Linked DNA regions of Homo sapiens: all the other regions are linked to region 4. The links are contacts of gene promoters, found by promoter capture Hi-C in blood cells and fetal thymus (Javierre and others, 2016). All regions are on one chromosome and are shown on one strand. Each heading gives the region's core, a stretch centred on a gene start or on the middle of the fragment in contact. The rest is flanking DNA. Distances are from core to core; before and after follow the strand shown.

The links. Contacts are between HindIII fragments. The CHiCAGO score rates a contact against its expected background, and 5 or more counts as called.
Region 1: a contact is called between a fragment that was not itself captured here and the fragment with the promoter of ANKRD16 in region 4, in 1 of 17 cell types (total B cells). The highest score is 5.2, in total B cells.
Region 2: a fragment that was not itself captured here is called in contact with the fragment with the promoter of ANKRD16 in region 4 in 1 of 17 cell types (naive B cells); the score reaches 5.0 in naive B cells.
Region 3: a contact is called between a fragment that was not itself captured here and the fragment with the promoter of ANKRD16 in region 4, in 3 of 17 cell types (total B cells, megakaryocytes and naive B cells). The highest score is 7.1, in total B cells.

Annotation. Positions count from the first base shown.
Region 1 is chr10:5,710,355-5,713,952 of GRCh38, reverse strand. TASOR2 (transcription activation suppressor family member 2) reads right to left here. Exons shown (of 22, transcript NM_001321783.2): 2 at 1,035-1,130. Among named protein-coding and RNA genes, the nearest start is that of TASOR2, 27 kb to the right of the region's middle. The HindIII fragment of the contact is 2,182 bases long and covers 810-2,991 here.
Region 2 is chr10:6,046,636-6,050,022 of GRCh38, reverse strand. The region is part of intron 1 of IL2RA (interleukin 2 receptor subunit alpha); the gene reads left to right. Among named protein-coding and RNA genes, the nearest start is that of IL2RA-AS1, 13 kb to the right of the region's middle. The HindIII fragment of the contact is 9,510 bases long and covers 1-3,387 here.
Region 3 is chr10:6,085,303-6,088,935 of GRCh38, reverse strand. No RefSeq gene overlaps it. Among named protein-coding and RNA genes, the nearest start is that of RBM17, 1.9 kb to the left of the region's middle. RefSeq lists a silencer at 1-40 and an enhancer at 201-250. The HindIII fragment of the contact is 1,365 bases long and covers 885-2,249 here.
Region 4 is chr10:5,888,311-5,891,964 of GRCh38, reverse strand. ANKRD16 (ankyrin repeat domain 16) reads left to right here and starts at 2,072. Exons shown (of 8, transcript NM_019046.3): 1 at 2,072-2,924. The coding sequence starts at 2,611. FBH1 (F-box DNA helicase 1) reads right to left here and starts at 1,722. Exons shown (of 21, transcript NM_178150.3): 1 at 1,619-1,722. The coding sequence starts at 1,619. RefSeq lists silencers at 1,290-1,339, 1,530-2,249, 2,390-2,499, 2,510-2,789. The HindIII fragment of the contact is 13,083 bases long and covers 1-3,654 here.

The DNA.
Region 1 (3,598 bases), core at 651-3,150, 180 kb after region 4:
CTGAGATTACAGGCATGAGGCACAACTGCATCTGGCCTAATCCATAAGCTTTAAAATAAATAGTCTGCTCACTGTAGGTATTCGGGGCACAAAGAAAACTTATGCAAAGCAATCTGTATTTTGATTAATGGCCCAAACTTTTCATAGAATTTTACCATTTCAATCAACAAAAATGTCAGGAAAACCAAACTAAGCAGGGTCACAGGTAAGTCCACTAGAAGATTTATTTTCCAACTACAGCTTTAGAAGCATGAAATTTCAAAATGTCTTGTTGCCAAATGTCATTTTTAGTAAGAACCCAGAGCGTGTTATTTGAATTCAGACGATTAAATTTCAAAAGGGATAAACTCTTCTGGTATTACTATATAGTCCTTATTATATGTTAGTGCTAATTATCCGCTAAACAAATCTGCCCCCCTTCTTTATAAACCATTAACCTAATCGAAGCACTAACTTTGAATTATTTTAGATCTCTGGTATTGTTTAAAATGTATCTCGGAAGCCATACATATCTTTGGAGACCTACCCTGTACACGGTCCTTTCCTTCTCCCATAATTTAGGTACAGGCAACAATACAGATTTCAGTCTTCAAATATTGAATGAAGCAATTTCAGTTAACCAGGATGCCAAAGTTTATTAAGTTACATGATTTATCTCCCAAATCAAATAACTTAAACCAGAAAAATTTCCACAGGAAACAAAGTTTCGATTAAACGATAATCCAGAATGGAAAAATATCCATTCACTCTAGTAAAGGCCATTATTGACACTAAAGAAAACTGTTTTAATCCAAATTGCACCCTAAGCTTACAAATGTATTTCAGATAAAACTAAAGAGAAACCGTGAAAAGTTGTAGAAATCAAATCAAATCTCCTTCATGACTGGCTTTTTTGTTGCTGTCATTTACATGCCACCAAACTAAGCAACAAAAAACACTGATGAATTGGTAATCTTACAACTCTTACAGAACTGAAGTACCACAATACTTAAGACTAATGATACCATTAATTTTCTACAACCTAATTCCCTTACCTGCTTTTCAGTATCAAACAGAAGAAACCCGTAAGTGTCTTGAAGTTCTTCCTGAGTATAACTACTTGCTTTTTTTTGTTGGTAAAAAGTTTTGTACTGTATAAAGAGAGAACAGAATAACCAAACGCTATAAACATACTATTTTGTCTTGCAAATTTTTAAAAATGCATCATTTGAATTCTTCCTGCCATTAAGACTAAACATAAATGCATTATTTTTCTATTCCCTAGAATAATTACCTTCCAAGTGACTATTTCCAAGGATCTGCTGCGTCTGAAAAATTATAGCTAAAAAGTGCTAGGCTTATATACCAAAAATGATGGGTTTACCTCTTTTAAAACTAAAACAAAACCATCATAGTGTGTACCAAGCACCTCACCTCATTTAAGAAAATGTCATTTTTCACCAAAGTCACTTGACTGTACTGAAAACCATGCTCAGATGAAGAGTCCAAGTAAGAAGTATGGAGGAGTGAAACTGCCCTCTGGAAGAGAGAGTCTGAACTCAAGGACACTGTCTCAAAAACTGTAAAACACAAACAAAAATAACGCAGCTATTTAAGATTCCAAAGGATGGGGTTAAGGGAGACACACTGAATATCACTCAAAACATCACCTATTCCTTTCCTATATAACTAAGAAATATTTGTACTGTCTTAACAAAATTTAAAAGACCTCTGATGTAAAGAAAATAACCTAAATAAATTAGAACTGAAGCTGAATTACTTTTAGTACAGGAGCTAAAATATGTCCTGCCAGACCTGGTATGTCTTTTGGTTGAAAGCTGTGTACTATAACTGTAGTTGGTCAAAAGTGGATACAACTGTAGTGTCAAGGTGGTGGTCAGGAGCTGCTTAGACTTTTAGAGCAATTTCTCATTCTTTAGTTTTTTTCATCCTTTGTTTCTATTCTTTTTTTTTTAAATATATACGCCACACTTGATAAACTTACTCTTTACATATTTTCATTAAATCCCTAAGTCAGCTAGGTCCCTTTTAAGGGACCTACTATTGCCCACTCACCAGACACAATAGAAATCATTGTATCTCTGGGATTTCCTCACCCGTCAAGAAGAGTCTATTGAGTTTTACTTCCTGTGAGTTGTATTATAAAATCACTTTCTTTCATTTTATACAACAGAGCTGTACTTACAATTTTTTGAAGGTGCTTTTTTCAAACCATACCCATGTGAGATAGCTTTGAGGGACTGTGATACACCCTTCCCATGAGAGGCACGTTTCCTAATTGAGAATTACCGACTGGATCCAGTAATTATGTTGACTGACTCTTTGTGCCTTTTGATTTTACAAGTCTCTACTTTAGCAAGAACTGAGCCTAATGACCTACGGACACTCTTGCATCTAACCATTTTAACTGTTCACTCTCCTATTTGTACTCTTTCTATTCTCTTTATTAAGGTTGGGGGGTTTTACAAACCTAGTATTTATAAACAATAAGGAGAAGAGAATGATTTATATAGCACTGGAAGTACTGGTCATATAGTATAAATGTTATGAAGTACAGTAATATGGCTTCCTACTTTTACCAAAACTGCCAAATGTATTAAAGTTCAAAAATTAAAGAGAAAAAAGAATCTCAATTAAAACTAACTTGTAAGTAACCAATATACAAAAACTAGACTATCTCAGAAATGAAAGCAAACATTTTAGTAAGCTAAATTTAGACTAAATTGTCCTAATACTTTAATTATCAAGGCATTTAAAAAATCTTTTAATAAACTTCCAAGTATCAAAATGAAAGACTGTAAATAGAAAAGAATGAAATGTTTACGAATATTCTGAAGTTGATATACATGATTTATATATTCATTCTAAGTTTTACTTTTACTTTTGCTCAGTTTCACTTTCTCCTTCAATATACCAGTGCTTTAAAAAATAGGGATATTCTGAATAGATGCAAATAGCAAAACACCAGTTATAAGAGTTAAAATTAAAGCTTTATTAGCTGCATTACTCAAAACAAACTGGCAAACCTGAGCATTTTCAAATTCATTTTACAAATAATCTGTACTGCTAGCCTAAACACAAATCAAGATTTCTTTAGAAACAATAATTTTGGGAACTTTATATTTGATATTTATAAAAAAGCAAGAAAGTTTCAAAATTGAATTACCTATAGACCAATATTTGAGAAACACATTGTTTACACTGAAAGAAATATTTTAAAAAGTAACTCTGGAAATGAAGACTGTGATTATCAACTTCTCTAAATTCTGTAAGTCATTAATAGGTAGGCACAGATTTAAGTTACATACGTCCTCATTTTTGAGCATCATAATGCACAATAATGAACTGAAAACTGAAGAGATGGTGCAATTAAAAACACTAATACAGGGTTTCCCAAATACATGGTCAGAGAACACTTCATTAACACCAGTGTGGGGAATACTGTTCCCTATATAGCTATAAATAAAGCCAATGATTTAAAACGAAGGAGGAGGAACAAGTACCAAATTATTTTTTGCTTATATATATTTTTATTTCCAGAACTATTTATTTATGGTTAAAAATGCTTCCACTTTAGGCCAGTATTCTTCAATATATA
Region 2 (3,387 bases), core at 78-2,577, 160 kb before region 4:
ACTGTTCCCTCAGCACATAGCACGCCTTGGCCAGCAGGTCTCCTCCTGTCCTTCAAAGGGAACCTCCTCATTTGTGATTTCAAAGCTGGACTCCCAGGAACACCCTCCTCCCTTACTGGAACAATCTTCCCCATCTTGTCTGCCTACCGGAATTTTTCCCAACCAGAAAAGCGTCTTGAGAGAATGGAAAAGTCTTATGAATTTGGAAAGTTGACAGCTTGAATTCAAATCCTAGCTTGAACTTGTGAATTTCTACTTTCCTTTACGAAAACCTTTGCATGCCATTCTGTGCAGGCACTAGCAAGGTGGTGGGAGGGAGATGGATACAGTAGGGTGAGTGCCGTGTAAAGAAAAGGGAGCAAAGTCTGGGACTGCAGAGAAATGCCACAAAGCACAGACAGAAGAGTCCCGGAGGCTTCCCAGAGAAAGATGACAGCCAATGGGAGACCTCCAGGGAAAGCAGGAGTTAAGAAGGTAGAAATGCATTAGGGAAGTGTGGCATGAGCATGATGGTCAATTTCAATGTGTCCACTTGCCTGGGCTAAGGGATGCCCAGATAGCTGGCTAAACAGTCTCTCTGGGGGTGTCTGTGAGGGTATTTCCAGGAGACACTAGCATTTGAATTGAATAGACTGGGTAAATTTCTTGTTGGTAGACTGAGTAAAGAAAATCACCCTCACCAGTGTGGTGGGGATCATCCAACCATAGAGGACCAGAATAGAACAAGAAGGCAGAGGAAGGTTGCATTCTCTCTGTTCAAGCTGGGACATCCGTCGTCTGCTCTTGGACATTTGCACTCCTGGTTCTCCAGCTTTTGGACTCTGGGACTTACAGCAGGGCCCCTCTGCTCCTCAGGCCTTCAGTCTTAGACTGAGCCACACCACCAGCTTTCCTAGTTATCCAGCTCCAGCTGGCATATTGTGGGACTTCTCAGCCTCCATAATTGAGTGAGCCAACTCCCATTATAAATATTCTCTTATTTATCTACATACATCCTATTGGTTTTGTTTCTCTAGAGAAATTCTGTTTCCCTGAATAATACAATGACCAAGGCCCAAGACAAAACACATGGTGAGCTCCAAGAGCCACGCAGAGTCCCGCAAGGCAGGAGAGCTCAGGCACATAGTGGAAGCAGAGATTTTGAAGTTGGGCATGAGCTGTGTCTTGGAGTCTCCCCATGTCACTGGGCTTAAACTGTGTCCTGGAAGGAACAGAACATCCCAGAGGGGTCTCAGTCAGGGCATGGCTTGTACTTTGGAGAGACAGCATTGGGTTTATGTGAAGAATGAAGGAAGAAGAGAAAGCACTGGGTTTATGTGAAGAATGAAGGGAAGCAGAAAGGCAAACCCATAGGGCATTGAGTAACCTCCATGGAAGTCCATGAGGGTAGGGTTTTAACCTCGGTGGGCCTCAGCTTCTGTTCGTATAAAATGGGAATAACACAGACCCTGCTGGGTGCTGTAAGGCTACATAAGCTAGCCTGCCTAGAGTGACCAGAGCACACAGTAGGTGCTCACTAAATGTGACTTGCTGGGCTTCTAGTCTGCATGGCCAAAGGCCCTTCCCTCGGACCTTTCCGTGTGGATGCCTCACAGGCTGCTCAGTCTACACATCCAGAACTGTCCTCCCTCCCTGGAACCTACTCTTTCTCCTCTCTTTGCTATCTCAATGAATGGCACCCCATCCTCCCCATCGCCCAGGAAATCTGGGCAAAATCCTCATTTCTTCCTTGCTGTCCTCCATGCACCTAATAATCCAGCCTCAATTTTTGGCAATTCCAACTTCTAAAATCTCTTAACGCCAGCAACCCCTCTTCTTGCTTACTTATCACCACCCACCTCAGGACTCCCATGACAGCCTTCCTGTGATGCATGACGGGCACATGACAAGGGCAGTTGAGGGTCAGGGGCCACGGGAGCAGGATGCAGCCAGCACATGAGGGAGGATAGGCGGGAGGACAGGCAGACACTTGTGCGTAAGAGCACGCACTTGTCAGGCTGCCTGGGTCCAAGTCCTAGCTCCACCACTGAGGGGCTGTGTGTCTCTGGGCAAGTCACTGGGCCTCTCTGTGCCTTAGTTCCTGCCTCTAGAGAACGGAGATGAGAAGAACACATCACCTCATAATTAATTACTGCATAAGTAATAATTTTAATTATATTGACTATTATACTCTATTAGTGTATGATGTCTTTTATTATATATATTTATCATATAATATACTAATTATATTAATGAGTATACTATAGTATTTTATATAACATACCCTAATTGCTTATTATATATCTGTATAATTATTTTATCATATAAGATAATTTCATAAGCTAAGATGGTATTTTATATATTTCATTTATTATATATTTATATTTATATACTTTATTGTATTTGAATTGTGATGTCTAATAAAATAATAGATACGTTAATTATCCTTCATATTCATAATAAGCTCCTTCATTGGTGTCTGGGAAGCCGAGAACATTTGTGCGTGTGAGCTCTCCTGTGTGTTCGGCATGCAGTGTGTTGCGTCTCAGCTGACGTGATTGCTGTTTTTGGTGGCCCGGAGGCACAGGGTGCATGCTACAGGCAGGAAGAGCTTTGGAGCAGGCTGACTCCTGAGCTCTCCTCTGGTGCCGTGGCTTCTGAGGCCCCCAGGTGACAACCAGCCTTTGCCATTCTAGTGTTTCCTCTATGTTCATCCCGCGTTCTGAGTGTGGCACAGGCCACACTCCTGACCCCACCAGCATCAGGTGCTGTGCACATGGTATGAGGTCGGGATGGAGTGCTGTTGGCATGGGGGTTGTTCCTTGGGCTACCTGTGTCCACATGGTCTGATTAACCCCTTCTGCACATCAGCAAGGGTTCAGCACCTCCTCAGGGTTAGGGCATGCGCAGGGCATGCAGGGATTTGAGGGTCCTTGGACAATGCATGTTCTCCATGCAAGCATGCAGAGACATGGAGAGGGTCTTTGTCCCTTTCAGTCCTAACATTCTGTGGCTTCATAACTACTTGTCCCACACCCGAGTAAAAAGCAGGATCTTCTCAGCACTGTGCTGAGGAAGTCTTTAAACCTTCCAGTAGGACATGGGATCCCTGCCTGCATCTTAAGTTCCCATGTCCTTAGGAAACGTGGCCACCTTGGAATTCAGCTCTCCAAGAAGCCCAGTGTGAATGCCCATTGCAGGAGCATCTGAGCTCACCCCCACTAACCCTGAGGTATCTGTTGAAAAGAATAGAACCCACCCACTGAAACTATCAGAGATCAAATGTTGTGTGTTGACTAAGAATTTGTGTTAAGGCAGGGATAGTTGAGCACCAATGCTTTCAAGGAACTCTGGAGAAATGCAAGCCTGTATTTCCTCTCAGCATGGCTGCAGAAGAGGGCCAGGGCA
Region 3 (3,633 bases), core at 318-2,817, 200 kb before region 4:
CGCGGGAGGACCGCACTGCACGCTCCCCTCCGCCGGCGTCTTCTTACCATCAAGAGGTGTCGCCCTGGCGCACATTTTCGAAATTCCACAAGGCTTGGGGAGCGCGGCAGCGCCCCCAGATGGTGAGGAGGAGAAGTGGTCCGAGGCCGGGCTTTCTGATAGGGGAGGTGGGGGAAGTCCCTCCAGGCCCCTCGATCTCATTCATTCAAAGCCACTCCTATATAAGCAAAAAGTTGAAAATAAGTCTGCATAGGCCAGATGCTGCAAAAGGATGGCAAGGAGCACGAGGTTAAGCGTAAGATTATGGAAACAGATGCCGCGATTAGGGGTACAGAAAAGAATGTCAATGCTATAAAGCCTCGGTCTTTAAAAACGACGTCGCTGACAGAAGCAGGGAGGGAAAGGGAAAGTGGGACTTCGGGTAAATATGATTTTTACATCTGTAATTAATTGGGTGTCAAATAGAGTTCAAGCCGATAAATCAAATAGTAGAGATTTAAGCAGACGTCTTAGTCCGAAGGAGTATACCAAGAAAGTTACTATAATCCATTAAAATCCAGTCATTAAGAAAACGGGAAAAGGGGGAAAAAAGAAATACAGTGGAGAGACAAAAGACAATCTAAAGAAATAGAGGATTAAGGACGTCATGGGATGGTATGATTCTGAGGGTAACCCAGAACAAAACTACAAAGCTTTCAAATAATCCACACATACATGCACCCACACATACATGCATGCACACACACACACACACACACAAAACCACAGCAAAAAAAATATATATATAGGGAAATATTTTAAAAAGTTACAAAACAGAAAGCGTAACCAAACTATATGACAGAACAAGACCAAATGTCTCACAAGAAGAAATATAGACCTAAGCTTACCTACTAAAAAACTACAATCTCAGATAGGAGCACAAACCATCATGCAACTCAGTGTTGTATACAAGAAAGTGCTAACGTTATTCTGAGTTTGAAAATACAAGATTGGAAAAGATATACCAGGAATATGCAAAAAAATTAAAAAAATCAGGAATCACAAACCGCTTACTACAAAGTTGATTTCAGGGCAAAAAGCATTAAGTAAGATTAAGAAGGACATTTTATAATCTTGAGGAGCACAATTCACAATCAAGAAAAAAATAGGAAAAATAGGAAAATCTTTGCACCAAATCACATAATCTCATTATTCATAGCAAACACTGTAGGAGTGAGTGAATAGACAGAAATAATTGGCACACTCCTTGCCAGACGAAGAGTACAAAAAGTAAATGGGGATTGAGAAGACCTAAAAATACAATTCCTATGATAGATCTAATATATCAAACACTGTCCCCTAAATAGACATTACATCTTTTCCAGTGTCTAAGGAATATTCACAACAATTAGTCATATTTTAAACCACAGAGAAAAATCTTAACATAGTCCAATAAGTAGAATCATATCGGTAATATTATCTGCAGCAATTCAATAAAAGTAGAAATTAATGAAAAAACAGAAAATAAAACATGCCTACCCCTTGAAAATTTTTAAATGCTTAAATAACACTTGGACTAAAAAGGAAAACAAAATCAAAATAACATAATATCTAGAAAAGTATGAAAATGACATACTCATGGGATTTAGCTCAGAGAGTACTAAGAGGAAAATTCATGGTTTTAAGTTTTTGTATCAATTAAAAACTTGGAAAAAGCTAAATGAATTAAGCACTTGTGCAAGAAACTGGAAATAAAATAAAAATGTGAGAAGCAGAAGGACGTACTTGGTCAATAAAAGAAGCAGAAAGTAATAGCGTGTAAACAGAAAAAGGAAGAAGGGCAAAGATAGAAGGTGTCTAGACTGGGTCTCTCCCCACCCCGTGATCAAAGCACCGGTGGGGGTGCAAAAGCCCTGATTAGGAGGTCCAGAGCTGCAGGACTTCCTCCAGGTTGAACCTGCTGTCTACCTGTACTCCCTAATCTGCTTGGCGTCTCCACTCTGCAGTCTGAGACCACTCCTTCCTCCCTTTTTGGTTGAAAATTTGTGCCTTTGTTCCCAAATCATTCCATCATACATACACAAGTAACTTTTTGGTTTACAGACCATAGATGCAATCACATCCATTGTTTAGGAATTTTCTAGTTTAACTTCCAGGAGGAAAACTGCCTTACTTCATTTCCTAGTACGTGAGCAGTCTCATGCTTGCCTCCATTTCCTGTCAATAGTAACAAATATCATCTTTATTTTATGCACCGAGAATCCAAAGCTTAACCCAATGGGGGAACAGAACCCAGGCCATGCAACTATCAGAAAGCGCACACAAAACGGTGGAGCTTTAGAAGAGGGACAAGACAGACGCGCTGGAGCGCCCCCTCGGGGCTGCAGAGCAAACATCGGTAGTGACTCCTGCGTAAACAAGTCGTGTGATCTGCTCCAGCTGTGCTCAGCGCCTGGCAGGAGGCTGGCAGGCAGCAGATGGTAGAATTCATCGGAAACTGGGAATTAGCAGGGCAGATGTTCCAGGAAGAAAGAAGATAAGGGCGGTGTTTGGGCTGGCAGGAAAGGCTGGGTGAAATGCTACAGTATGCAGCATGGATGGAACCGGGGGACCCCGAAACAGGAAAAGAAAGGGGTGTGGGCCCTGGAGGGAAGACAAGCTAGTTAAGACAATTTGATCAGATTATAATTTGATCAAAAACAAGTATTCCCAAGGATTCTGTGTGTAGGGATGCTTTCGGTGCACCGTGGAGAATGATTTTTGTCTCCTTTTTTGTATCTTTTTTTTTTTTTTTTTTTTTGAGACGGAGTCTTGCTCTTGTCACCCAGGCTGGAGTGCAATGGAGTAATCTCAGCTCACTGCAACCTCCGCCTCCCGGGTTCAAGCGATTCTCCTGCCTCAGCTTCCTAAGTAGCTGGGATTACAGGTGCCCGCCACCATGCCCGGCTACTTTTTGTATTTTTAGTAGAGACGGGGTTTCACCATGTTGGCCAGGCTGGTCTCGAACTCCTGACCTCCGGTGATCCGCCCACCTCGGCCTCCCAAAGTGCTGGGATTACAGGCATGTATATCTCTAAGCAGCTTCGGCCATTTCAGAAATCTTTCCTTCCTTCCTTCCTTCCTTCCTTCCTTCTTTCCTTCTTTCCTTCTTTCCTTCTTTCCTTCTTTCCTTCTTTCCTTCTTTCCTTCTTTCTTTCTTTCTTTCTTTCTTTCTTTCTTTCTTTCTTTCTTTCTTTTTCTTTCGATGGAGTCTCTCTCTTGTTGCCCAGGCTGGAGTGCGATGGTATGATCTGGGCTCACTGCAACCTCCACCTCCTGGGTTCGAGCAATTCTCCTGCCTCAACCTCCTGAGTAGGTGGGATTACAGACGCCTGCCACCACGCCCTGCTAATTTTTGTAGTTTTGGTAGAGATGATATTTCACCATGTTGGCCAGGCTGGTCTCAAACTCCTGACCTCAAGTGATCCACCCGCCTTGGCCTCCCAAAGTGCTGGGATTACAGGTGTGAGCCACCATGCCCGGCCCATCTCACAGATTTTTTAAAGTTTTTTCACTTTTTTTGTCTTTCTAAATCATTCTCTACAGTTATTCCTGCTCTGTAAGGTTTCTAATAGTAAAAATATAGGAACAAACTAGCGAACAATAACAACTTAG
Region 4 (3,654 bases), core at 823-3,322:
ATGTGCAACACCAATGAAGTAACCAATTATCCTGGGTTCAAATATTCCAACCTGGCTAGGCACGGTGGCTCACGCCTGTAATCCCAGCATTTGGGAGGCCGAGCTGGGTGAATTACTTGAGGCCAGGAGTTTAAAGACCAGCCTGGCCAACATGGTGAAACCCCGTCTCTACTAAAAATACAAAAAAATTAGCCGAGCATGGTGGCACACGCCTGTAATCCCAGCTACTCGGGAGGCTGAGGCAGGAGAATTGCTTGAACCCGGGAGGGGGAGGTTGCAGTGAGCCGAGATCGTGCCACTGCACTCCACCCGGAGCAACAGAGCGAGACTCTGTCTCAAAATATATATATATATTCCAACCTACTGTGAACCCGTGTGTCCCAATTATGTTTAAAAAACAGGGAAACTAGAGACATAATGCAAGAGAAGATAGTCATCTGAAACTGGGAGAGGGGCAGGGGTAAAAGCAAAAAGCATGAAGCTACCAGATGCCTCAACTTCCAATTTGCACTAACTTCAACGGCAGCAGAACACTGCTTGGCACGCCCTACACTTTTGTGCATTTCAAACAACTTTTATGCCTTCCTTTTTTTCTTTTGCTGGAGTGACAAGGCACGACAGAACAATAACCTGAGCAAAGCTGGTACTTGGACTAGTTCTGTCTCCAGAGGCTATCCACATCACTGTTACCTTAACCAAACTCAATCTGCTCATGAGTAAAACGGACTTATCTTCATGGGCCCATTCCAGAAGTCTTTTCATTTATCTCCGCTCATTTTACCACAGCGGCAGACGCTGGCGGACACTCAACACATGCTACCATCCTGCCTTCCAGAAGACTTTATTACCTGTAATTCTGTAAGAAAGTCACTGACTTGGTTAGGCCTCCACTTCCCCACCTGTAAAACCCTACTGATGCCTCATAGGGTTGTCTTCGGACCACAGACTGCAATAAAAAATGTAAACGGCACTCGTTTTTAGGCCTGGCAAATAGGAGCTACTCCCATTCTACTCCCTAAAGGAATCGAAAACATGGAGAGGTTAAGTGACTGGCACCTAATCAGATCGGGTAAGGAACCCAACACCTACTGATCTCTTCCATCACCCACAGCCTGCCCAGCTCTCGCCGTGCCCTCCACCAGCGCCAGGCCTCCCACATCGCCTTAGGCTTCCCATGCTCAGAGGAGGGGCAGAGAAGCTACCGATGACACAGGGGCAGAGGGCAGCGAAAAATGACTTGCCCAAGGTCAAAACGTCAGAGTAGACGGGAAAGCCTGGCCTCCTAGCAGCCGAGGCCACGTCCCCGCGCTTGCCCCTTCAGCCCCGAGGACCCACACGCTGCGCCTTCCTGGCCTCGGGGGGCAGCGCGGGGGCCGCTCCCGACCGAGTTCAGTGAGCGCCCTGGCCTCCCCCGCGCACCCCCGCCGCGCCCTCCACCTGCCCACGGCCCGGACGGCCGAGCCCCCACGCCCGCGCTTGCCCGAGCCCAGCCTCGCGCCCCCGGGGCCCCCGCTGCCCCACCCCGGGCCCGGACCCCCCGCGCAGGACCCCGGAGGTTAAGTTTTCCACACGGCGGAGCCCCTCCCACACTCCCTGCCACGTCTGCGGCCTCACGCACTGTGGCGCTCCGGACCCGGACCCCGCTGCCGCCGCCGCCGGGCCCGCGCCGCCGGCCGCTCAGCCCAGCGTCCCCCGGCAGCGAGCTCCTCCTCTGGCCGGGACCTGGAGCCCGAGACGCCCGCCGACTTCCTCCGCGAGCTCCGCCCCGCCGCAGCCCCGGGAAGCGCCCGCCGCCGGAGCCGGACTGACGGCCCCCGCGACCAATCGGGACGCGAGACCGGAGGGGGCGTGCTGACGGACGGCCACTAACGCCAATCGAAATGCGCAATCGGTGGGGGCGCGGCCACAGCTACCGGGCCACGCCCCATCCGCGCTTCCGCTCGGGCCGGGGCGGAGCGGGAAACTTTCCCAGAGTTCCTTCGAGCTCCCCGAGTCCCCGCGGAGCAGCGGCGGTCGAGGGGCGGGGACGGGGGCGGAGCCCAGGAACGCCGGCCCCCAGGGGCTGGAGGCTGGGGCGGCCCTGAGGACGCGTGCGGGGCAGGTCACGCTTGGGCCTGGCTGCCTCAGGAGCCACCCTGCACGGCGCCGGGCGAGGCTGTGCGCGCCCTCCCGGACCCTCCACTTTGGGGCTTTGCGGTGTAGCGGCGCGCCCCACTCCCTTACGTGTTCAGTCCCGAATCACGTACGGGCCGCTGCAGCTCCAGGACGGCGGACGCCAGCGCTCTCGGATCCCCAGGCCCCTCCGTGCTCATCCCGGACCGCTCCGTCCCTGAGGAAAAACCGCCCCGTGCCCGGAACCGCGGCTTCTCCCACGCGGGGCAGGCCGGGGCTGTGAGGGGGCAGCCCGCCTGCGGACTAGGCCGGGGGTTTGAGGAGGCGGCTCTGCCGGGGACAAAGCCGGGGGCGTGAGGGGCGGTTCTGCCGGGTTCGGGGCGCGCGGGGCAGGTTGCGTGAAGAGGCGGAAAGTCCCACTCGCCCTCGGCTTCTCCCTGCCCGGCCGCCGGTGTCCCGCCCGCCGCCTCCCCGCGCAGCCCGGCCCGACCCGCGGCGATGGCCCAGCCCGGGGACCCGCGGCGCCTCTGCAGGCTGGTGCAGGAGGGCCGGCTGCGCGCCCTGAAGGAGGAGCTGCAGGCGGCCGGGGGCTGCCCGGGGCCGGCCGGGGATACCCTCCTGCACTGCGCCGCGCGCCACGGGCATCGGGACGTGCTGGCCTATCTGGCCGAGGCCTGGGGCATGGACATCGAGGCCACCAACCGAGACTACAAGCGGCCTCTGCACGAGGCGGCCTCCATGGGCCACCGAGACTGCGTGCGCTACCTGCTGGGCCGGGGGGCAGCGGTCGACTGCCTGAAGAAGGCCGACTGGTAGGTGTGGAGCGGAAAGACACCCCGCCTCCCCTCTACTCGCAGAGTCGTAGCGAGTTCCCTGTGCTTCTCCGTCCCCTTGGACACCGTAGCTGTTCTCAGCTCCTAGTTCTCACCCCAGGCCTGCTCAGCGGCAGGGACCTCCTGCCCAACTTTCCCTTATAACGCAGATGACCTGCAGAGTCCCTCGTTCCTGCCCTTGTGGGTTAACTGGTCGGGGCAGTCACCTCCCTTTCTAGAGCACGGAATAGTGTAGAATATAACCAAAGAGAATGTTACCAAACAATGAAGTGTGTGCACTATACAGATAGCCTCCGGATGCGATGTTCTGGGGACATTTAGCTAAGTTACTTCTGCACCAATGCATTGTTTCAAGTGGCATTGCTCCAATCAATATCCAGAATTCCTGAGTTATACACGCGCTCGTGTGTGTAGAGCACAGTGCAGTTGTATCACATACGTGCAGCCTTGCATAACCACCACAGTCAGAGATACTCTGCTCCACCATCACACAAGCCAATTGCATTTCGTTTGTTAGATTGACACTGATTTTAGTACTCACTAGGTCAGGTTCGTTAGAGGGCGTGAACATCTTTAGGAACATAGGGAAGTACATCTTCCCCACTGGGGCAGGGGAATAGACTTCGTTATGTGTTGAGGGTTGTCTGTGGGTTTTCTTAGCTCTGCTCCAATTCACTGCTATCCTGTGAACTAGCTTATAAGCTGCTTT